Linked DNA regions of Homo sapiens: all the other regions are linked to region 3. Evidence: promoter capture Hi-C in 16 types of primary human blood cells and fetal thymus (Javierre and others, 2016). All regions are on one chromosome and are shown on one strand. The core of a region is centred on a gene start or on the middle of the fragment in contact, and the rest is flanking DNA. Distances in the headings are between cores, read along the strand shown.

Evidence for each region. The method cuts DNA at HindIII sites, captures the fragments that hold promoters and counts their contacts. A CHiCAGO score of 5 or more calls a contact.
Region 1: a fragment that was not itself captured here is called in contact with the fragment with the promoter of PIEZO1 in region 3 in 1 of 17 cell types (total CD8 T cells); the score reaches 5.2 in total CD8 T cells.
Region 2: a contact is called between a fragment that was not itself captured here and the fragment with the promoter of PIEZO1 in region 3, in 1 of 17 cell types (neutrophils). The highest score is 5.1, in neutrophils.
Region 4: a fragment that was not itself captured here is called in contact with the fragment with the promoter of PIEZO1 in region 3 in 5 of 17 cell types (endothelial precursors, total CD8 T cells, M0 macrophages and 2 more); the score reaches 8.2 in endothelial precursors.
Region 5: a fragment that was not itself captured here is called in contact with the fragment with the promoter of PIEZO1 in region 3 in 11 of 17 cell types (monocytes, fetal thymus, naive CD4 T cells and 8 more); the score reaches 8.4 in monocytes.
Region 6: a fragment that was not itself captured here is called in contact with the fragment with the promoter of PIEZO1 in region 3 in 16 of 17 cell types (erythroblasts, naive CD4 T cells, naive B cells and 13 more); the score reaches 34.2 in erythroblasts.

The regions. Positions count from the first base shown.
Region 1 is chr16:89,235,711-89,239,444 of GRCh38, forward strand. ZNF778 (zinc finger protein 778) reads left to right here. Exons shown (of 7, transcript NM_001201407.2): 7 at 1-1,431. Among named protein-coding and RNA genes, the nearest start is that of ZNF778, 20 kb to the left of the region's middle. The HindIII fragment of the contact is 4,676 bases long and covers 1-3,734 here.
Region 2 is chr16:89,103,671-89,107,799 of GRCh38, forward strand. All of the region lies in intron 4 of ACSF3 (acyl-CoA synthetase family member 3), which reads left to right. Among named protein-coding and RNA genes, the nearest start is that of ACSF3, 12 kb to the left of the region's middle. RefSeq lists an enhancer at 1,607-1,656. The HindIII fragment of the contact is 6,380 bases long and covers 1-4,129 here.
Region 3 is chr16:88,782,837-88,786,780 of GRCh38, forward strand. It overlaps PIEZO1 (piezo type mechanosensitive ion channel component 1 (Er blood group)), which reads right to left and starts at 2,384. Exons shown (of 51, transcript NM_001142864.4): 1 at 2,065-2,384. The coding sequence starts at 2,128. RefSeq lists silencers at 1,213-1,532, 2,033-2,512, 2,553-2,882 and an enhancer at 1,615-2,528. The HindIII fragment of the contact is 3,775 bases long and covers 689-3,944 here.
Region 4 is chr16:89,154,385-89,156,884 of GRCh38, forward strand. ACSF3 (acyl-CoA synthetase family member 3) reads left to right here. Exons shown (of 11, transcript NM_001243279.3): 11 at 1-1,849. Among named protein-coding and RNA genes, the nearest start is that of LINC00304, 3.6 kb to the right of the region's middle. The HindIII fragment of the contact is 360 bases long and covers 1,071-1,430 here.
Region 5 is chr16:89,125,149-89,128,837 of GRCh38, forward strand. All of the region lies in intron 7 of ACSF3 (acyl-CoA synthetase family member 3), which reads left to right. Among named protein-coding and RNA genes, the nearest start is that of LINC00304, 32 kb to the right of the region's middle. The HindIII fragment of the contact is 1,089 bases long and covers 1,896-2,984 here.
Region 6 is chr16:89,215,680-89,219,412 of GRCh38, forward strand. ZNF778 (zinc finger protein 778) reads left to right here and starts at 2,024. Exons shown (of 7, transcript NM_001201407.2): 1 at 2,024-2,231. ZNF778-DT (ZNF778 divergent transcript) reads right to left here and starts at 1,974. Exons shown (of 1, transcript NR_186410.1): 1 at 1-1,974. RefSeq lists enhancers at 562-856, 1,806-1,855, 2,380-2,910, 2,911-3,440. The HindIII fragment of the contact is 989 bases long and covers 956-1,944 here.

The DNA.
Region 1 (3,734 bases), core at 599-3,098, 450 kb after region 3:
ATTCATGACCTCAGTATCCTGGAAGAAAAGGAGAAAGTGTGATGTAGTAAAACCACTTGAAAAAATAATGATGAAACATTTCTCATATTTGGTGTAAGATAAAAACTTAAGTTTGAAGAGGTTCCATGAGCCCCAGACAGGATAAACCTAAAGAAAACCAAGCCCAGGCCGGGGGCGGTGGCTCACACCTGTAATCCCAGCACTTTGGGAGGCCGAGGTGGGCGGATCACAAGGTCAGGAGATCATGACCATCCTGGCCAACACAGTGAAACCTCGTCTCTAGTAAAAAAAAAAAAAAAAAAGAAAAATACAAAAATTTAGTTGGGCGTGGTGGCGGGCGACTGCAGTCCCAGCTACTGGGGAGGCTGAGGCAGGAGAATGGCGTGAACCCGGGAGGCAGAGCATGCAGTGAGCTGAGATTGCACCACTGCACTCCAGCCTGGGCAACAGAGCGAGACTCTGTCTCAAAAAAGAAGAAAGAAAAGAAAACCAAGCCCCTGCCACCACGAAGCTGCCGAAAGCTACAGAGTGAAAGTCTTGGAAGGAGGCTGAGAAAGTGGACACAGTGCTTCCAGAAGAACAATTCAATTGACCGGGTTTCTCGTCGGAAGCCATAGAGGCCAACAGGAAATGTAGGAGCATTTTTCAAGTTCTGAAATAAAAAGAAATGCCAACCCAGATTGCTATATCCAACAAAATATCCTTTAGGAATGAAACAGAAGTAACGATGAGGCAATACAAAGAATTGCCTGCAGACCTGGTTTAAATAAATGGTTACAGAAAACTCTTAAGGAAACCTGGAACAAAGGAAAAGCAATAGAAGAGTAAATACCTGAGTAAATAGATCAGATCATTCTACTCTTGAGTTCTTTAAAATATATATTATTGTCAAAAGCAAAAATTATCACATGGGGTTTCAACTGATGTATATTTAATACATAAGACAACTACAACATGAAGGTGAGGGGCAACGTGGCTGGACGGCGTGGAGGTTCCGTGCTCCATTTCAGTGGCAAAATACCATTCCAGAAGGACTGGAAAAGCTAAGTCTGTATATTTTAATTACTAAAGAAGTGTACAGCTGGGTGTGGTGGCTCACGCCTGTAATCCCACCACTTTGGGAGAGTGAGGTGGGTGGATCACTTGAGGTCAGGAGTTTGAGACCAGCTTGGCCAACATGGTGAAACCCCATCTCTACTAAGAAATACAAAAATTAGCTGTGTGTGGTTGGGGGCACCTGTAATCTCAGCTTCTCAGGAGGCTGAGGCAGGAGAATCACTTGAACCCAGGAGGTGGAGGTTGCAGTCAGTCGAGATTGTGCCACGGCACTCCAGCCTGGGTGACAGAGCAAGACTCTGTCTAAAAAAAAAAAGGACAATGAGATATACTAAAATGGTCCAATATGTTAATTAAAACATACTACTAAAAAAAGTGTTAAATAGCCTGAAAGAATTGTGATAAAGGGGAAACTGAGTACTGGGAACAAAAGAGAACAAGTAGGTAACGAAGTGGTGGCCAGGTGCGGTGGCTCAGGCCTGTCATCCCAGCACTGTGGGAGACCGAGGCGGGCGGATCACTTGAGGTCAGGAGTCAGACCAGTCTGGCCAACATAGTGAAATCCCGTCTCTACTAAAAATACAAAGTTAGCCAGGGGTGATGGTGGGAGCCTATAATTCGAGCTACGTGGGAGGCTGAGGTAGGAGAATCACTTGAACCGGGGAGGTGGAGGTGGCAGTGAGCTGAGATCGCGCCACTGTACTCCAGCCTGGGTGACAGCAAGACTCTGTCTAAAATAAAAAATAAAAAATAACTGGTAGAGCTGAATCCTAGATAATCAAACACATTAGTGCACATGATCAGCTGGGCACTCACGCCTGTAATCCCAGCACTTTGGGAGGCCGAGGCGGGTGGATCACTTGAGGTCAGGAGTTCCAGACCAGCCTGGCCAACACGGTAAAACCTTGTCTCTACTAAAAATACAAAAATTAGCCAGGTTTGGTGGCTCATGCCTGTGGTCGCAGCTACTCAGGAACCTGAGGCAGGAGAATCATTTGAACCCAGGAGGTGGAGGTTGCAATGAGCCAAGATCGTGCCACTGCACTCCAGACTGGGCAACAGAGCAAGACTTCATCTCAAAAAAAAAATATGATCTACACATGCTATTTAAAGATAGGACAGATAAAAAGTGTGACGCATCAGTATGTCATCTACAAGACACTTCAAATACAATGACGTAAATAGGTTAATAGTACCATGTAAACATAATAAAGTGGAGAGGCTGTATTTAACATCAGAAAAAATGACTTCAGCACAAAGAAAATTACCACAGGGTGTTGAGTGCAGTGGCTGATGCCTGTAATCCCAACACTTTGGGAGGCTGAGGTGGCTGGCTCACTTAAGGCCAGCAGTTCAAGACCAGCCTGGGCAACATGGCGAAACCCTGTCTGTACTAAAAATACAAAATTAGCCGGGCATGGTGGCAGGCACCTGTGATCCCAGCTACTTGGGAGGCTGAGGCAGGAGAATCTCTTGAACCCGGGAGGTGGAGGTTGCAATGAGCCGAGATAGCGCCATTGCACTCCAGCCTGGGCAACAAGAGCAAAACTCCATCTCATAAATAAAAGTTAAAAGCAAAATGTGATAAAAGACCACAAAAATGAAAAATTACAGTGTTAATTATATTGATTCAAATTAGTTATGTTAAATATTAGCAAATAATACAAAACCACATTGAGAAAATAATAAACCATGACCAAGTGGAATTTAAGACTGCAACTGGTTCAATTAGAAAGCCTATTAAATACTACACCATATGAATCCATCTAAGAAGATAAGGCATGTGATTGTATCCATAGGTGTTGATGAAGCCTTTGGGAAAATGTGGTACCTACTATTGATAGACGCACTCAAAATAGGAATTGGTGAATACTTTCTTAGGACGCCTGTGTCTGTAGCTATATGTGTGTGTGTGTGTACTGGAAGTGTTACCTAATGCAATTGGGCAAAACAGATTTGCAAAAAAGTGAACTATCTCTTGTGTGCATTATATGATATACATGGAAAGCCCTGTAGAATCAGTAAAAACATTTAGTAAGTTAGAGGAGGTGAAGTTGCCGTCAAAACATAGATGGTCTTCATCTACACAACCAATAACCAGTGAGGTGATATGATAGTAGAGAAAACTTATTTATAATAGCAATAAAACAATGCTTAGAAATAAATTTATCAAGAAATGTATAAAACCTAAATGAGGAAACTTTTTGTTTGTTTGTTTGTTTGAGACAGAGTCTCGCTCTGTCATCCAGGCTGGAGTGCAGTGGCATGATCTCGGCTCACTGCAACCTCCACCTCCTGGGTTCAAGTGATTCTCCTGCCTCAGCCTCCCAAGTAGCTGGTATTACAGGTACCTGCCACCACGCCCGGCTAATTTTTGTATTTTTAGTAGAGACGGGATTTCACCATGTTGGCCTGGCTGGTCTCAAACTCCTGACCTCATGATCTGTCCGTCTCGGCCTCCCAAAATGCTGGGGTTACAGGCGTGAGCCACCGGGCCGTGCCCGGCCATGAGGAAACTTTAAAACACTTTTTTTTTTTAGATGGGGATTTGCTCTGTCCCACAGGCTGCAGTGCAGTGGTGTGATCACAGCTCACTGCAGCCTCGACCTCCAGGGCTCAAGCGATCCTTCCTCCTCATCCTCTCAAGTAGCTGAGACTACAGGTGCACACCACCACAC
Region 2 (4,129 bases), core at 1,291-3,790, 320 kb after region 3:
TCGGTTACTCCAGAGTACTGGCCCAGCTGGAGAGCTGCTTGCTGCGGAGGGTTACTTTGGAGTATTGGCCCAGCTGAAGGGCTGCTGTGGAGTCTCTGTCTCCCCTCTCTGCATGGCTTCCTCTGTAGCGTCTCCCTTGGAGCAGGCAGGGAGGGAAGGACGCGGTGCTGGTCACACAGAGCGCTGGGGTGGGAGCAGTCATCGCCGAGCTGCTGCGCGCAGCCTTGCCTGTGCAGGGCTGTCTCCAGGCAGATCAGGGATGCTGCTTTGGAGGGAAAGGACCTGGGCTCGAGGCGGGACCCTGTGCACAGCATCGGGCCTCGCCTGTCAGTTGGGGATGGCGGTGGCTTTTAGGAGTTGCTGTGGCCCTGTGTGCATTCTAGCTGACTGCAGGCAAGAGTCACTCACCAGGCTGCAGAGGGCATGAGGGGCAGGCCTTGAGCCCACAGGAAGGACACGGTGTGCGTATGTCACAGGTGTGGTGAAGCAGAGCCCTCCGGTGAGGCCATGGACGTTTACCAGCCTCTGCCCGTATAATGAATATGCCTTTTATTCACAGGAAAAAAAGTTTAACACGTGAATGTATGGAAAAGCCCTTAGAATTTGGATCGTATCATGATGGTTCTCAGCACAGAGGAGCCCATCTCTGAGGCCAGATGCCTGGGACTGGGCTCTTGGTCTGTGCGGGGTTGTTCTGCAGGGCAGACGTCCCGGCCAGCAGAGGCACAGCCCTAAAGCCCAGAGCACAGCAGCCACCAGTGGCCGGCCCCACACTCACCGCTCTTGCCAGGACTCTTCCTGTCTGAAGTCTTTCTGGCCCCATCGAAGGCTGTGTGGAGCTCTGAGGCCTCTGACCGGGAGCTCAGGACCCAAACCCTAGTCAGGTGTGAATTTCGCCAGGAAGGGGTCCCTGCAAGCAGTCAGCCCTGCCCACCTTCCCTCTGCTTCTCCTGCCGCTGAGAGGCCCATCCTCTTCTCTGCAGGGCATCCAGCCCCACACGGTGGCTGGAGGTGGAGAGAAGGCAGCTTTTCTGGCCCTCCACCTCTCTGACCTTCAGTCTCATCCCCGGAAAATAAGGTTGGAGGCCGGCTCACAGTGGGCACAAACTTGGAAAAGAGAAGGGGCTCTTCTCTAGCCTCCACTGGAGGCAAGGTCTCACAAGAGAAGCCAGTATGTAGAACAGCTTTGTACGAGCAAGTGAGCCTGTTTCTTCACAGATGATAACATTGGGCTTTAGAGAAAGACCTCTTTAAAATCTAGCAGTTACTACCGTGCCAAAGAGAGGTGGCTGCCAGCACACTTGCGTGATTAGCCGTCAGCTCCCTCCACTGCTCTTCAGGACGCCTGTAGCCACAGAGCCTCCCTGAGGGCCCCGTCGCCAGGGTCACCTCCTGAAGAGCCTCCCTGAGGGCCCCGTCGCCAGGGTCACCCCCTGAAGAGCCTCCCTGAGGGCCCCGTCTCCCTAACACATTCCACATTCTTGTTGGCTTCAGTCCTTATTTTTCACAGACATCTCAGCCCTGACCCCAGCTGCGACACAGCAGTCTGTTAAGATGGCAGACACTGCGGCTGCCTCATCTGCGTGGTCCATCCCGGAGACATCTGCCTGGCGCTCTGCTCCAGGCCTTCCTGGCTCCCCTGGTAGGGATCTGGCTCAGTGACCCGACCCTCCTTGCGGCTCTCTCTGGGGTGCGCCCTGCATGGACACAGCTGTCCTTGGTGAACGTCTGCTGAGTCAAAGTGGTTTTGCTGCAGTGAGTTCCCCGTGAGTGCACTGTGTGGGTGGTGCAGCGCCTGGTGTGTAGGGAACTTCCATGCCTTTGCTGTGTCTCTGGGGGCTCCTCTGACGGGGCAGCTCCCTCCTCTCCGCCTTAAGCTCCTCCTTTCCTTTGGCGGTCAGCTCTGTCCAGGGTGTCAGTTTCTGTGCCTGTGACTGGGCCCCCTCAACCTGCCCCACCTTGGCCTCTGCTCCTTGGCAGCCTGGCCCTGAACCTCTGTTGGGGGCTGCCCGGGCGCTGACGGTGGCTGGTCTACCATGGTCACTTGGGCAGAGGCAGCAACGGCCATTGTCGTGGACCGTGCCAGGGCGAGATGCAGCTGGCAGGGGCAGAGGCAGAACATCTCCCAGGGAGCTGAGGGCAGGTTGGTTCCATCGTCCCGGAGGGCAGGTTGGTTCCATCCTCCCAAGTAAAGAGTGTGTTACCCTCAGGGCGAGAGGCAGGTGGGTGTGGGTGCTGGCGCAGGCCAGCTGTCAAGGATCTGGGCTTTCTGGTCTTGCTGCTTCTCCAGCACTGCATGAATGACACCACCTGGCCCTTTCCAGTGCCCACAGGCACACGGCTTGGGAGCTGCTGCTGCGGCGTCTCTGCCCAGGGGCATCTGCCAGGGGGTCCCTGCCTTGGGGTCTGTGTCCCAAGGGCGTCTGCCCAGGGATTTCTGCTCCGAGAGTGTCTACCCTGGGGTCTCTGCCTGGGGATCTGCTGTCATCTTCCAGACACTGCAGACTGGCTCATTAATGGACACGGGAAAGCCTCAGACCTTCAACGGACACGGGAAAGCCTCAGACCTTCACCGTTTTTGACACTTACTTGGGATTTTTCTTTAAACTATGCTGTGAAAACTTAATTTTTTTTTTTTTTGAGATGGAGTCTCGCACTGTTAGCCGGGCTGGAGTGCAGTGGCACGATCTCGGCTCACTGCAACCTCCGCCTCCTGGGTTCAAGCGATTCTCCTGCCTCAGCCTCCTGAGTAGCTGGGATTACAGGCACCTGCCACCACAGCCAGCTAATTTTTTGTATTTTTAGTAGAGACGGGGTTTCACTATGTTGGCCAGGCTGGTCTAGAACTCCGGACCTCATGATCCACCTGCCTCAGCCTCCCAAAGTGCTGGGATTACAGACGTAAGCCACTATGCCCAGCTGAAAACTTAATATTTAAACAAATTTGATGCTGTGGCTACAAAGGATTGCAACTCTTTTCCATAAACTCCAAGTTTCAGGGTTTTCCAACTTTAGGAATTTCTATGTGTAAAATCCAGCTGTCAGCGTTATTGAACTTTGGGATTTTGTCTAAGATTGTGTGGAAGAATGTGTAGGATACAAGTGTGGGGTGACCAGACACCTGCGGTGGTGCTGAACGATCTCAGACGCGGTGTCTTCAAGTCATCCTGCACAGAGGGCCGTGGGTGTCAGTGCCTGCAGGTGACGGATGGGGTTGGGGGAGAGGAGGAGGATGCCGGAAGATGGATGTGCAGCCACAGCCTCTGGAGATCAAAGTCACCACTGACGAGACAGCCAGAGGCTCAGATCAGTCACTCGTCTCCAACAGCACTGCCCTGGCCGACTTCCTCAGGATCGCAGCATGGACTCAGGAGGGCTGCCATCTGGCAGGGTCTGTGCTGTGGCAGCTCAGGTTAGAGCAACAGGCCTGCTCCTGCCACCTCAGAAGCACTTGCTAGTTAGTCAAATGTTATGGCGCCCTTCAGGGGGCCTCCAGGTCTTTCACGTCTTGGAAGTGTGGCAACACATTGGGATGTGCTGGAGGAAGAAGGTCACCCTCGGCTCTCAGTGCCCTTCTTTAGGGCAGCAGCTGCCCTCTGAAGATTTGGATGAATTCCAAGAAAGACCGTCCTTCGTGTCTTTCACCTCCGCGCCTGCTCCCTGCCCCTCAGCCTTGTCCCGTTGCGTGCATGCTGTCCCCGCCTCAGCACCATCCTGCTACACGCATGCTCTCCCCACCTCGGCACCATCCTGCTACACGCGTGCTCTCCCCGCCTCGGCACCATCCTGCTACACGCGTGCTCCGTTTTCCGTGCCTCAGTGTCACGTTTGTGTTTCTGGTTCACTGTGCTGTTGATCTGTGTGTTACATCAAATGCAGTTTGTTCTTTTTACGTTGCTGTGTTGTATTTCCTGGTGTGCAGAAGCCACAGTGCGCTTATCCATTCTGCTCTTGAAGGACTTGAGATTGTTTTCAGTTTGTGGCTATTAGAAGTCACGGTTGCTATGAACATTCTCACACAGATGTCCCTGTGGACAGTTCCCTTGGATCCGCAACTCCCAGTGCCGGCTCACAGGCTAGATGTATGTTTCATTTCAGTGGAAACTGCGGAAGAGTTCTCAAACGTGGC
Region 3 (3,944 bases), core at 1,134-3,633:
CCCGGCCAGCAGGCAGGCAGGCAGGGTTCTTGGCCGGCTCCACTTCCATCTCCCCCAGGTGACTGAGAGAAAACACTGAGTGAGGCCCAGGCCCCACGCCCCATCCCCAGACACAGAATCAGTGTGGGGTATGGCCCGGGCTTCAGCATCTTTCAAATTAAGAGACTTTATTTGGGACCAGTTTTAGGTTTAAGGAAAGTACCATACAGACAGACAGTCAGTCATCACTATTCTTTAAAAGTTTCATAGAAGACTGACACGGGGCCTGGGTGAGCACCCCTGGGCTACCTCCCCATCCTCCCCAAGGAGGCCAAAAGCAAGAAGAACAGTGATCCCTCCCCCAGATCCCCCACGCGGATAGCAATCGAGAAGGCAGAACCCAGGCCCCCTGACCAATGCCCAGGGGGCAGCAAACCACATGTGCCACAGAATCGGGCTCAACACCTGTTTAGGTACAGCCCATGAACTCAGGAGGGCTTTTACATTTAATGGCTGGAAAAATACCAGAAGAAGAAGATTTTGTGACATGAAAATATTTACCATCTGGTCATTTAAAGAAAAACATTGCCAACTCTGCCCAAGGAGCAGCTGCCATCTGAGAGGGGGGGCATTCCCTGCAGGGAGGACACCCGCTCCCACTCAGACACAAGAGGAAATGGAACGATCAGTGTGAACGGGACGTTTCAGAAGCTTTCCTGTTTCCCTCTCTAAGGCCTGTCAGCTCTAGACTCTGCCTCTGTGCCAGGCTGTCCTGCTTGTTTTCAAGGCACAGGAAGGAACACAGCCGGGCCCTGTTTACGGCCCATCTGACCCTGCACTGGGAGCAGGTCCCAGGCTGCCCAGTCCACACAGGGCTGACCGCACTGAAGAGAGTTGCTCAAAACCTCTCCTCTCCAGCCTCAATGGTTTTCATTGATTCCTGTCTAGAAAATCTTCCCCAAGTTTCACCACCTTTCTGTGCGACCGATCAAAACGCAGTCTGTCTGGGAGCCTCAGGCAGGCGGCTCTAGATCCCCAAAGCTAGCGCTGGGCGAGCTCCCACCTGGAGCGAGGCAAGGGCTCCGAAAGGGCTTTTACAATCAAAAGGCCCCACCTGCCGTGTCCATGGCGGACTCCCAATGCAAACCGTCCCACTTGTCCGTGGGTTAATTCCATCCGACTGCTTCCCAGATCAATCACACGTGGGGAGCCCCCGGGCGGAGGGCGCGGACCCTGGGTCCCGGCTAGGCCAGGGTCGGGGAAGGGTAGGGGTGCCAGGCCGTGCAGCACCAAGCCACCCGGGTGTGCTTCGCGAAAGGGGCACCACTGCCCGGCAAGCAGGGAACACAGATGCCAGGACTGGGGACCCCTGCCCCGCCCTGACACCAGGCCACAGCCTCCGGGGGTGTCCCCTCCCCCAGACCAGGGCAGAGGCCGGCCCCCGCCCCTGCGAAACTGAGCCCAGTAGGGCAAGGGAGGACCAGGGAGGAACCCACACTATTTTTTTCCAAAGTGTGGGACCGCCTCAGTCCGGCAGAGGGGGGTGCAGCGGTGAGCGGGGCTGGGCCCTGGGCACGGACGTTCGTTGGGCTCGGGAAGCTCCAAATTAAACAGCTCCAGGCAGGAAGCCCGCCTTCTCCCAGATTGTCAGGAAGTCCTGATGCAACTTTGCGCTTTTTTTTTTAAACCCGAAAGAGAAAAAGAGATTCGTGCTCCCCCCACCACCGCCGCGGCCCTTCCCACCGGGGCAAACACCGCCTCGCCCGGCGGCCTCCTCTCCGCAGCGCCCCGGCGGAGACGCCAGCCGCGCTATGCCCGGCGCTCGCTCGACCGCCCCCGTGGGCACGCGGTGCCGTCTCCCCCAGCCGCCGCCGCCCTTCCAGCCCGGCCCTGGGACAGGAGCCCCGCCGCCGCCTGGCGCGCTCATGCTTCAGGAATGCGGGCGCCCGGGTCGCGCGTCCCTGGGAATTTCCGCGCCCGCTCGCCCGCAGCCCTCGCCCCGGCCGGCGTCGTCCGGTGTCCAGGCCGTGGGGAGCCGAGACGCAGCCCCCTCCCGTCGCCCCCAGGCGCCCGCCCCCCACTCACCAGCCAGCAGCGCGCAGGGCAGCAGCAGCCAGTACAGGACCGCGCCGAGCACGTGCGGCTCCATGGCTGGAGGGCCCAGGGCCCGGCCCAGACCGAGCGGACGCCGCGGCGCTATGGGGCGGTGCGGGGGCCCCGGGGCCGGCGCGCCATGGCTGACCCGCGGGGACCCGCGCGCCGCCTTCTCCTCTTCCTCCTTCTCCTTCGGCCGCCCCGCCGGTGCCGACGTCCCGGGCCCGCGCTCGCTCAGGCGACCGCCCTGCCCCTCGGCGGAGCGCAGCGCTCGGCTCACTGGGGCCGAGCTGGGCCGGACGGCGGCTCCCGCCCTCCTCCGCCCGCGGGCCTTTATAAGCTCGGCCCCCTCCCGCCCTCCCCGGCGTGCCCGCCTCCGCGCTTCCCCGACGGCCCGGCGCGCCCAGGCACCCCCTCCGCTGTCCCGCGCGGCCCGTCCCGCCTCCGGCCCGCCCTGGTGCGTTGGGGCCTGGAGACCCCCGACTGGCGCTGGCCCGGAGCGGACCCCTCCCCTCCCGCAGTCTTGGCCCCGCGGCTCCGAGCGTGCGCGGCGGTGGGCAGGGGCGCTTCTCGCTGGGTGGGCTGCGGCTGGGGCCCGGGCGCTACATAAGGGGTCCCGGGGCCTCTGGCTCCCCCAGGCAGCGCCCCACGCGCAACTGCACCCCGCGTGCCCGAGCGACTTTCGCTTTGCTCCCCGAGGCGCGAGCACGCAGCGCCCCCTGGGGACCGTGGGGAGGCTCGGAGTTCCCGCGGCGGCCGGGCCTAGTGGTCCCGGAGGGAGCACGCGGGATGCTCGGGTCGCAGCAGTGCCGCGATCCGCGTTGGTCTGACGGGGGCTCGGGGGCTGCTCCCAGCCACGCCGGCCACCGCGCGCGGCTTTGCCCGGGTCGCTCTGGCGTGAGACGGTGAGAGTGAGAGCCACGGCCTGTGCACCTGCTGCCGCGGCGCCCTGCCACGGAGAGGTAGGGTCTGAGTCCAGGGTGTTCGGGACCCTCACCCAGGCCACGTCAGTTTGGCCTTCGTCTGCCCTTGAGATGGGCACAGAAAGAGGGCAAAGGGCTCTACACCGTTTAATTGGGCTCAGTTCATGGCTCTCAAACTCAGCTGCGTAAGGCAGGGAGTGGGGCTGGGGGGACTGTGGCCACTGAGCCTCAAGGCACTGGCAACTCATGAGAGCCCAGCACAAGCCCACACCCTCCAGCTCAAAAAAAAAAAAAAAAAAAAAAGATGGCGGGGCAGTGGCTCAGGCCTGTAATCCCAGCACTTTGCGGGGCTGAGGCAAGGGGGTAGGGGGTCGGGGGATCACTTGACGTCAGGAGTTCGAGACCAGCCTGGCCAACATGGTGAAACCCCGTCTCTACTAAAAATACAAAAATTAGGCCGGGCGCGGTGGCTCACGCCTGTAATCCCAGCACTTTGGGAGGCCGAGGCGGGTGGATCACCAGGTCAGGAGATCGAGACCATCCTGGCTAACACGGTGAAAACCCATCTCTACTAAAAACATAAAAAATTAGCCGGGCGTGGTGGCGGGCTCCTGTAGTCCCAACTACTCGGGAGGCTGAGGCAGGAGAATGGCATCAACCCAGGAGGCGGAGCTTGCAGTGAGCCGAGATAGCGCCACTGCACTCCAGCCTGGGCGACAGAGCCAGACTCCGTCTCAATAAATAAATAAATAAATAAATAAATAAATAAATAAATATACAAAAATTAGCCGGGCGTGATGGCAGGCGCCTGTATTCCCAACTACTCAGGAGGCCGAGGCAGGAAAATCGCTTGAACCTGGGAGGCAGAGGTTGCCGTGAGCCGAGATCATGCCATTGCACTCCAGCCTGAGTGACAAGAACGAAACTCCATTAAAAAAAAAAAAACCA
Region 4 (2,500 bases), core at 1-2,500, 370 kb after region 3:
CAGTTGTTGCAGCTCAAGGAGACCGTCCCTGGTGTCACCTCTGCCTGGTCACCGCCGACCTCATCTGTGCAGCGCGGTGCAGCCAGCCCCTGGCCCCACGTGCTGAGGCACCTCCCGCCCCACAGTGCCCTGCAGTTGCCAGGCTCTCCAGGGCAGGTCCCAGAGGTTTCCCACAAAAAACAAAGACTCCACTGGAGGAAACAAGCCCCTGTCCCACGCCGTCTGCACGTGCCTGTGCCTCACCCAGAGCCAGTGTCTCCCGGCCCACATAGGAGGTCTGGGCAGCCACCCAGGGGGCCCTCCTGGGAGGAGCTGAGGGTTCACAAGCCTCCCAGAACCAGCCCTGTCCCATGGGTTCCGTGCATTTCCTGGTGCTGCTCTTGGAGGAGAGCAGCTCCCACTGTGGGGACACCTGCCACCCTGCACACTACTGTGTGTCCATCAGCATGTGTCACAGAAAGTGCGTGGACGGATGGCCCCGGAGCTGCTCTGCCGTGACCCTGCCTCACCCCCCAGCGCAGGGACTTTCCAGGTCATCTCCACACCAGCCCCTCAGCCGGTGAACCCTCTCTCCCATCACCGTCTCCACCCAGACCCCCACCTGCCCCATGGCCCCCATTTCATGTCTGTGGCTCACCAGCTTTTCCCCAGACCCAGCTCCGGAGCCCACAGGCGTGGCCGATGCAGAAACCTCAGGAAGGTGTGTTGTGAATGTTGGGTGCACCCACGTTGCATTTACTTAGCGGGGCCAATTCAGATGCACAGGGGCCACATGCAGAATCCAGAAGTTTCTGGACAATTTTCAGAAGAATAGGCTGCCTCCTCCCCACAGCCTGGGGGAAGTAACAGTCATCGCCCAGCAGTGTCTGGCCTGAACTTACCCAGAACATTCTGCCCCCGGAATGCACGTCTGAAAGAGTGGCCAGAAACGAGTGTGCCGGGCAGGAGGCCAGCCCCATCTCAGGCTCACGTGCCTCTGACAGGAGACCAGCCCCATCTCAGGCTCACATGCCTCGCGGACAGTTGGACGTGGCCTGGGGCCCCTGCTCACTTGAGCATGTCGCCCACCAAGCTTGTCTGAGGCCACAGAGCAGCGTCCCAGCCCTGTTTTCCAGGACTGGTGGGTGCCCCAGTCCACGGCCCTGCCCCACCCGAACTCCTGCCTCACGGTGTGGCCTTGTGCATCCCCATGGCCTGACCCCGGGAACAGTCAGAGGAAGGGGTCCCGCCCTCCCGCCAGAGGCCTGGACCCAAGGGAACGGCAGTCAGAGACTACAGTCCAGACGTTTGTGTCTAGGCCTTGCTGGTAGCTAAGGAAATGCCTTCTGTTGGGAAAAGGTCAAATTTAACATAGCAAAATTTTTACTTAATTCCACTAATTTTACATTTGCATCTCTCTCCTTTAATCCTGAAACTTTTGATTCCTAAAAAGCTTACATAATCATTTGCTTTATCCGATAGTATACATCAGTATATCATGCTTTCGAAATAATGAGTGTAACTTTCTGCTGACAATACTACAAACTACAGAAAGCCTGGAGCTCATTGACCAGAAACTGCAGAGAGCCTGGAGCTCGTTGACCACAAACTACAGAAAGCCTGGAGCTCGTTGACCAGCCGGTTGACCAGAATACGGTGCTCCAAGGACATGCGGTTGAATGCCGTGTTCTAAAGTCACGAGTGACTCTCCAGCTGGTCCCTGTGCCAGGCTGGTCGGCCTTCGTGCACACAGTCCGCCAGTGCCCAGCCAGGCCCCTGGTTCCCCTCTGCTCCACCAGCCGAGAACAAGCCCGTCCTGGAGGGAACTCATCCTCTCCTCCCTCCCCATTAAAGCCCAGTTTATTCCCCATCTTGGCCTCTGGTGCTGACCTGGCCTCTGGAGACACAGGCCGGGGGGTGCTGTTTGCGAACTCACCGTGACTGAGCTCCATGAGGATACCACAGTCCCACGTGGCTGGCAGCGCCCACCCCACACACCCTGCCCCTTGCTGGGCGGCCCCATGCCACAAAAGTTAGACCCAGGAGCAGGTGCCCTGGGAGCAGGCTGCCACCAGCTGGGTCAGAAGCCCCTCTACATGCCTGGTGCTTTTGACCTCCTAGGGAGGCTGGCTTGAATCTGGAAAGTCACCAGTTCTGACCCCAGCCAGACACAGGGGTGCTGCCAGGAGCTGCTCCCAGGCGGGTGGCCCAGCTTCTCTCAGGCACCAGGGGATGGCAGGACTCCTGGTGACCAGCTGGTCCCCAAAGCCGTGGCACCGCGCCTGCTGCTGCCAGCAAAGTCCCACACACAGCCTGTGGCAGGTGCCGCCCCATTCTTTCTGCCCCTCCCTCATCAGGGGCCAGGGTGAAGCCCCTGCCGCCCTCTGCCTTCCCTCCACCTGCGGCTTCCCTGGCAGGGAGACCATGGACCCAGCTCCTGCCTCCTCCATTCGTTTAACAGATAGGGCCCAGGCCAGCAGCCCAGGCATTAGGCTGGCCGGTCCACTGAGGCCTAGACAGG
Region 5 (3,689 bases), core at 1,190-3,689, 340 kb after region 3:
GCCTGACCAAGATGATGAAACCCGTCTCTACTAAAAATACAAAAATTAGCCAGGCATGGTAGTGGGTGCCTGTAATCCCAGCTACTTGGGAGGCTGAGGCAAGAGAATCACTTGAAACCAGAAGGCGGAGTTTGCACTGAGCCGAGATCACGCCACTGCACTCCAGCCTGGGCAACAAGAGCAAAACTCTGTCTCAAAAAAAAAAAAAAAAGAATTAGCTTGTCTATATCTACAAAAAGTTCTTTTGAGGTCTTGAATGGAAAGCCAGGTGTAGTGGCTCATGCCTGTATTCCCAGCATTTTGGGAGGCCAAGGCAGGCTAATCAACTTGAGACCAGGAGCTCAAGACCAGCCTGGCCAACATGGTAAAACCCTGTCTCTACTGAAAATACAGTTAGCCAGGTGTGGTGGCACACGCCTGTAATCCCAGCTACTCGGGAGGCTGAGTCACAAGAATTGTTTGAGCCTGGGAGGTGGAGGTTGAAGTGAGCCAAGACTGCACCACTGCACTCCAGCCTGGGCAACAGAGTGAGACTGCCTCAAAAAAAAAAAGAGAGAGAGAGAGAGAGAGATGTTGATTGGAATTTAGCCATTCTGATCGGGGAGATCACTTGGGGGAGAATTAACAATTACTATGCTGAGTCTTCCAATCCATGAACATGGTATGTCTCTCCATTTACTTAGATCCGTGAACACGGTGTGTCTCTCCGTTTACTTAGATCCGTGAACACAGTGTGTCTCTCCGTTTACTTAGATCCGTGAACCTGGTGTGTCTCTCCATTTACGTAGATCCGTGAACACGGTATGTCTCTCCATTTACTTAGATCCGCAAACACGGTATATCTCTCCATTTACTTAGATCCGTGAACACGGTATGTTTCTCCATTTACATAGATCTGTGAACACGGTCTGTCTCTCCATTTACTTAGATCAGTGAACATGGTGTGTCTCTCCATTTAGATATACTTTGGTTTCTTCTGTGTTGTATTCAGCATATAGATGCTGTACTTGTGTTAAATTTATAAGTAAATGTTTCTTCTTTTCTTTATTCCTCCTATTTCTTCTCCTCCTTTTCCTCTCCTTTTTAAACTATTGTAAGTATGGCAGGTGGGTATGGGGGGAGAGTTGTTTGTTTTTTTGAGACAGAATCTTGTCCTTTCGCCCAGGCTGGAGTGTAGTGGTACGATCTCAGCTCACTGCAACCTCTACTTCCTGGGTCTAAGTGATTCTCATGCCTCAGCCTCCCCAGTAGCTGGGATTACAGATGTGTGCCACCACACCTGGCTGATTGTTGTATTTTTAATAGAGGCAGGGTTTCACCATGTTGGCCAGGCTGGTCTCAAACTCCTGACCTCAAGTGATCTGCCCGCCTCGGCCTCCCAAGATGCTGAGATTACAGGCATGAGCCTCTGCACACAGTCACGTTTTTGTTGCTGTTGTTAGTTTTCAACTGTTCATTGCTAGTAGGTAGAAATAGAATTGATTTTTGTGTGTTGGCCTCAAATACTTTAGTTGTTACCTTGCTAAATTAACTTACTAGTTTTAGGAGATTTTAATAGACTTCTTGGGAATTTCTACAAATACAATCATGTTTTCTGCAAATACAAACAGTTTTATTTCTTCCTTTCCAACCTGTATGACCAAAGCCCTGACTAGGACTTCCAATACGATACTGAACAGAAGCAGTCCGAGTGGACCTTCTTATTTCTGATCTTAGGGAAAGGATTCAGTCTTTCAGCAAGTGTGTTAGTTACTGGCTTTTTGCAGATTCCATTCTATCTATAATGTGCTTAGACTTTTTATCACTAAATGTATGTTGAATATTTTCAAAAAGCTTTTCGGTATTGATGGACTTTTCTTTATTAGGCTGTTAATATGGTAGATTACATTGAACCAAGCTTTCATTCCCAGGACAAACCCCACTTGGTCCTGGTGGGTCATTTTTTTATATATAGTACTGGATTTGATTTGCTAGCATATTGCTGAGTATTTTTGCATCTGTATTCATAAGAAATTTTGGTCTGTAGTTTCCCATTTTTGTACTTTCTTTGGGTTGTGTTTGAGGGTGATGCTGGCCTCATTAAATGAGTTGGGAAGTGTTCTCTCCTCTTTTTTTTTCTGGAAGAGATTGTGTAGAATTGGTATTATTTCTTCTTTCAATGATTGGTGGAATTCACCAATGAAATCATCTGGGCCTAGAGGTTTTCTTTTCTATTATTATTATTTTGTGTGTGGGGGATAAGGTCTCGTTCTGTCACGCAGGCTGGAGTGCAGTGGTGCAATCATAGCTCACTGGAGCCTTGAACTCCTGGGCTCAAGTGATCCTGCGTCAGCCTCCCAAGTAGCTGGGACCACAGGCATGTGCCAACATGCCCAGCTAATTTTTTATTTTTATTTTTGTAGAGTTGGGGGTCTCACTATATTGCCCAGGCTGATCTTGAACTCCTGGCCTCAAGTGATTCTCCCTCCTCGCCTCCCAAAGTGCTAGGGTTACAGGTGTGAGCCACTGTGCCCTACCAACGTTTCTTTTTTGAAAGAAAAAGAACTATGAATTCAATTTCTTTAGTGCTTATAGGACTGTTCAGGTCATCTGTTGCATCTTGGGTGATTTTTGGTACATATCATTTTTGAGGAATTGGTTCATTTAATCTGTTAAGTTTCTTTATGTAGAGTTTCCCTTCAGGCCACGAAACCATTAAAAGGTTGATTAAAAGGTTAATAAGGGAATTCCCATCTTAACCTTTTAATGGTTTCAGGGCCTGAAGTTATGTGGCTCCCATTCCTCATGTTGGTAATTTGTGTCTTCTGTTTCTTTTTTCTTTGTTATCCTTGCTAGAAGTTTATCTGTTTTATGGCTCTTTTTTCAAAGAAGTCACTTTTGGATACATTGATTTTTCTTTACTGTTTTTCTGTTTTCAGTTTCACTAGTTCTTGGTTTCTTCTACTTGCTTCTGGCTTTTCTCTTTTTCTAGTTGCTTAAGGTGAAGCTTTAGATTATTGATTTGAGACCTTTCCTCTTTATAATGTGTACATTTAATGACGTACGTTGCCCTTAAGCATTGCTTTAGCTGCATCCCCAAATTTATATATAATATATATATATTTTTTTCTTTTTTCTTTTTTTTTTTTTGAGACGGAGTTTCGCTCTCGTTGCCCAGGCTGGAGTGCAATGGCATGATCTTGGCTCACTGCAACCTCAGCCTCCCAGGTTCAAGCAATTCTCCTGCCTCAGCCTCCTGAGTAGCTGGGAGTATAGGCATGCGCCACCACGCCCAGCTAATTTTTTGTATTTAGTACAGATGGGGTTTCACCATGTTGGTCAGGCTGGTTTCGAACTCCTGACCTCAAGTGATCCACCCACCTCGGCTTCCCAAAGTGCTGAGATTACAGGCATGAGCCACCACGCCTGACCTAAATTTTGATATATTTTTATTTTCATTTAGTTCAAAATATTTTTAATGTTCCTTAAGACTTCCTCTTTGACTTGTGGATTATTTAGAAGTATAGCACATATTTTCCAAATAGTTGGATATTTTTCCATTATCTTTCTGTTACTGATTTCTAGTTTAAGTCCATTACAGTCAAAAGACGCACTTGGTATATTTCAATTCTTTTAAATTTGTTAAGTTGTGTTTTGTGGCCCAGAATGTGGTTTCTTTTCAGGAATGTTCTGGTGTACTTGAAAAGAGT
Region 6 (3,733 bases), core at 200-2,699, 430 kb after region 3:
TGTAATCTCAGCAGTCTGGGAGGCTGAGGCAGGAGGATCACGAGGTCAAGAGATAGATACCATCCTGGCTAACATGGTGAAACCCCATCTCTACTAAAAATACAAAAATTAGCTGGGCTTGGTGGCACGTGCCTGTAATCCCAGCTACTCTGGAGGCTGAGGCAGGAGAATCGCTTGAACCTGGGAGGCGGAGGTTGCGGTGAGCCAAGATTGTGCCCCTGCACTCCAGCCTGGTCGACAGAGCAAGACTTCGTCTCAAAAAAACAAAACAAAACAAAATTAAAAGAAAAAAAAACATATCCCAAGGGCAGGCACGGTGGCTGCAGTGGCTCACGTCTGTAATCCCACCACTTTGGGAGGCCGAGGCGGGTGGATCACCTGAAGTGAGAAGTTTGAGACCAGCCTGGCCAACATGGTGAAACTCCGTCTCTACTAAAAATTACAAGGTGGGCACCTGTAATCCCAGCTACTTGGGAGGCTGAGGCAGGAGAATAGCTGGAACCTGGGAGGCGGAGGTTGCAGTGAGCCAAGATCGTGCCACTGCACTCCAGCCTGGACGACAGAGGGAGACTCCGTATCAAAATTAATAAATAATAAATAAAACACATCCCAAACACTCATAGTGTTGAACCATTTAGCATGTGGTTGCTTTGTATACTTCGTGAAATTGTGTCCAATCTCTGCTAGCCATAGATAAGATAAATCCTGGGGCTCTAAAGACTGCAAGCCGTTGCTGCCCTTCAGAGCTTTGTGACTCAGACACCTGTCAGGCTGCTGAGAAACGTGATCTAGTCACGTCAGCCCTCCCCCTGTCTGATCTCCTTCTTCTCTGGGAGTTCTCTGCGCGCCCCCCGCCCACGCTCATTTTTTTCTCTTTTCTGAGTAGTGACCCCCAATTCGAAGCCTGTGGGTAATCTCATGGTGCGTGAGACTCCCTCACCCTCCAACCTGTCAAAGCTTGTGCGCCACCGCCACCTCCTGGGCACATCTTGTTTCTTAATCAGCCACGAAATCACGTGAACACTTCACATGTGGTTTTGTTTTGTTTTTCACATTTAGACTCCTGATCCGTTTGGAGTTTATCCCTGTGAGATCCAGAATTAATTTCATCATTTCTCAGACGGCTAACCATTTGTCTTAGCACCTTTCATTATAAACTGCATGTTTGTTCCACCGCTCTGAAATTATGTTTATGAACCAAATTTCCATGTTACTGGGTTGATGTCTGGATATTCCATTTGTTTCCTGTTCATGTGTCACTAGCACACAGTTTTAATGACAGAGGCTGTTTTCGCATCTGTCGGGCATTGCGCTTTTGTTTGTCCGCGTCGTCTGCGTTATGAGACATTTGTTCCTCCATGTGAACTCCAGGATCAATATGCCTGGTTCCAAAAAAAAAACCTTTTCGTATTGTTACTGGAATCATGTGACATTTCTGAATGAACCTTGGGAGAACCCCTGGTATCAGTGCTATTTTGCAACGTAGTATAGGTGGTCTTGGCTCCTACGGTACATTAGAAAAGTAACAGAAACGCATATTTGAAGCGAAAAATAGATGAACATTTACAGAAAAAAAAAATACCACATTGAAAATGCAGTGGAATCAACTGTTAAAAGTTCGGCGTGATGTTCAGACAGATAAAAAGGAACGGGGCCAGTGACTCCCTGCAGAGATCGAGAGAAGACCGAGCACTCCCAGCACCCGCGGGCTTCTCGCTGTGACCGAACCGCGGGCCGCGCTCGCGACGAGCACTTCCTGGCTGTACCCGCCCAACCGCGCCCTCCTGGTCTGTTCCGGCTCCGCAGTTGCGTCCAGAGGCCTGATCCTTACGTCCGCCTGGTCCTCCGGGCCTGTCTCTGCCTCCAGCCCGGTTCCCAAGGGCGCCCCGGGGCCCTCCCGCACCCTCGCGGAAGAAACTACTACCTCCCCGCACCATAGGCCAAAGCTTCGGCCCGGAGGCTGGAGGCGGAAGTGACGCCAAAGACGCGCCGGCCCCTCTTCCGGCGCCGGCCCCGCCTCCGCCTGTCTTACAGCTGATCCGGTTCTTGCGGCGGTGCGTGCTGGCGCCGGAGAGTTCCGCGCGTGTCCTCGGGCTGTCCGCGGGGAAGCTGGTCCGGGAGTGGGCGCCCGCCCGCCTGCCTCGCGCCTTGCGCCCCCGGCACCGCTTCCAGAAGGGAAAGTCGCCGCCGCTCGCGGTAGACCCGGGCAGCGCTTCCATTCCGCGGAGCTGGTGAGAGAGGGGCCCTTTGCTTCCTTCACTTTGAACAGGGCGTGTTTCTGTGAGAATCTGGCTTCGGCTTTGACGTTTTTTATTTGTTTCTGGCACATTGTGTTGGGACCGAAGCGTAAGGTAGACCCCTGAGCGCCCCGGGCGTGCAGCTCCCTGTGAAAGTTAGCCCGTGGGGGCCAGCGGGAGCGCGCGTCCCTCGCCGCCGGGACTTCCAGGCCCGGCCCTCGGGGCGGGAGGGATGCGGCCGTTGTCCCGCTGGTCTTGGAGTAATCGAATCCACGGTGAACAGTGTGTTTCGACTAACTGTATTTTTTCTCACGTTTTGCTTTAGAAAATCTGAATCTAATAAAAATGTGAACATCTGCTACAAGGAATATCCACTGCAATCGTTTTACTCCTTTTTAGCTTTGGGCCATGTTTTCTCTCTCCCCCAATAAATAAACCTTACGGTGAATTATTATTTGAGTGTAAGTAAGTTGAAATTAAACTGCACACATGATACTTAACCTTTAAATACTTGGTAAAGCGTCTGTTAAGGGTAAGGACATTATCCTACTGAAACCACAATATTAGTATTTCATCTAAGAAAATTAAAATTAGGCCGGGCGCGGTGGCTCACGCCTGTAATCCCAGCACTTTGGGAGGCCGAGGCGGGTGGATCACGAGGTCAGGAGACCGACACCATCCTGGCTAACACGGTGAAACCCCATCTCTACTAAAAATACAAAAAATTAGCCGGGCGTGGTGGCGGGCTCCTGTAGTCCCAGCTACTCTGGAGGCTGAGGCAGGAGAATGGCGTGAACCCGGGAGGCGGAGCTTGCAGTGAGCCGAGATGGCGCCACTGCACTCCAGCCTGGGCGACAGAGCGAGACTCCGTCTCAAAAAATAATAATAATAATTAAAAATAATAAGGTCCGCTGGGCACAGTGGCTCACGCCTGTAATCCTAGCACTTTGGGAGGCCGAGGCGGGTGGATCATCTGAGGTCGGGAGTTCAAGACCAGCCTGACTAACATGGAGAAATCCCGTCTCTACTAAAAGTACAAAATTAGCCTTGCATGGTGGCGCATGCCTGTAATCCCAGCTAGTCGGGAGGCTGAGGCAGGAGAATCGCTTGAACCTGGGTGGCACAGGTTGCGGTGAGCCAAGATCGTGCCATTGCACTCCAGCCTGGGCGACAGAGCAAGACTCCGTCTCAAAAAAATAAAAAAATAAAAAAATAAGAAGGAGGTCATCCACTGTCTACTTTGTGTAATATCTAGGATTCTCAACATTTTTCCAACATTGCGCTGTTGGGTATTTTGGGGACTAAGAGCCCTTCAAGGTTTATCTGTTCCCATCGTTTATGTCTTTTCACCTAGAACAACCCCTGTGGTTTCTCTATCATATTGACTTTGGTGTTGTTTTCTCGTGATACGTTTAAATATTCCTCCATTTCTTGCTGCTTCCTATGAACTTGTAATTGAATTCAGAGGAGAGGTTGGCAAAGGGCGGATAGTAAGC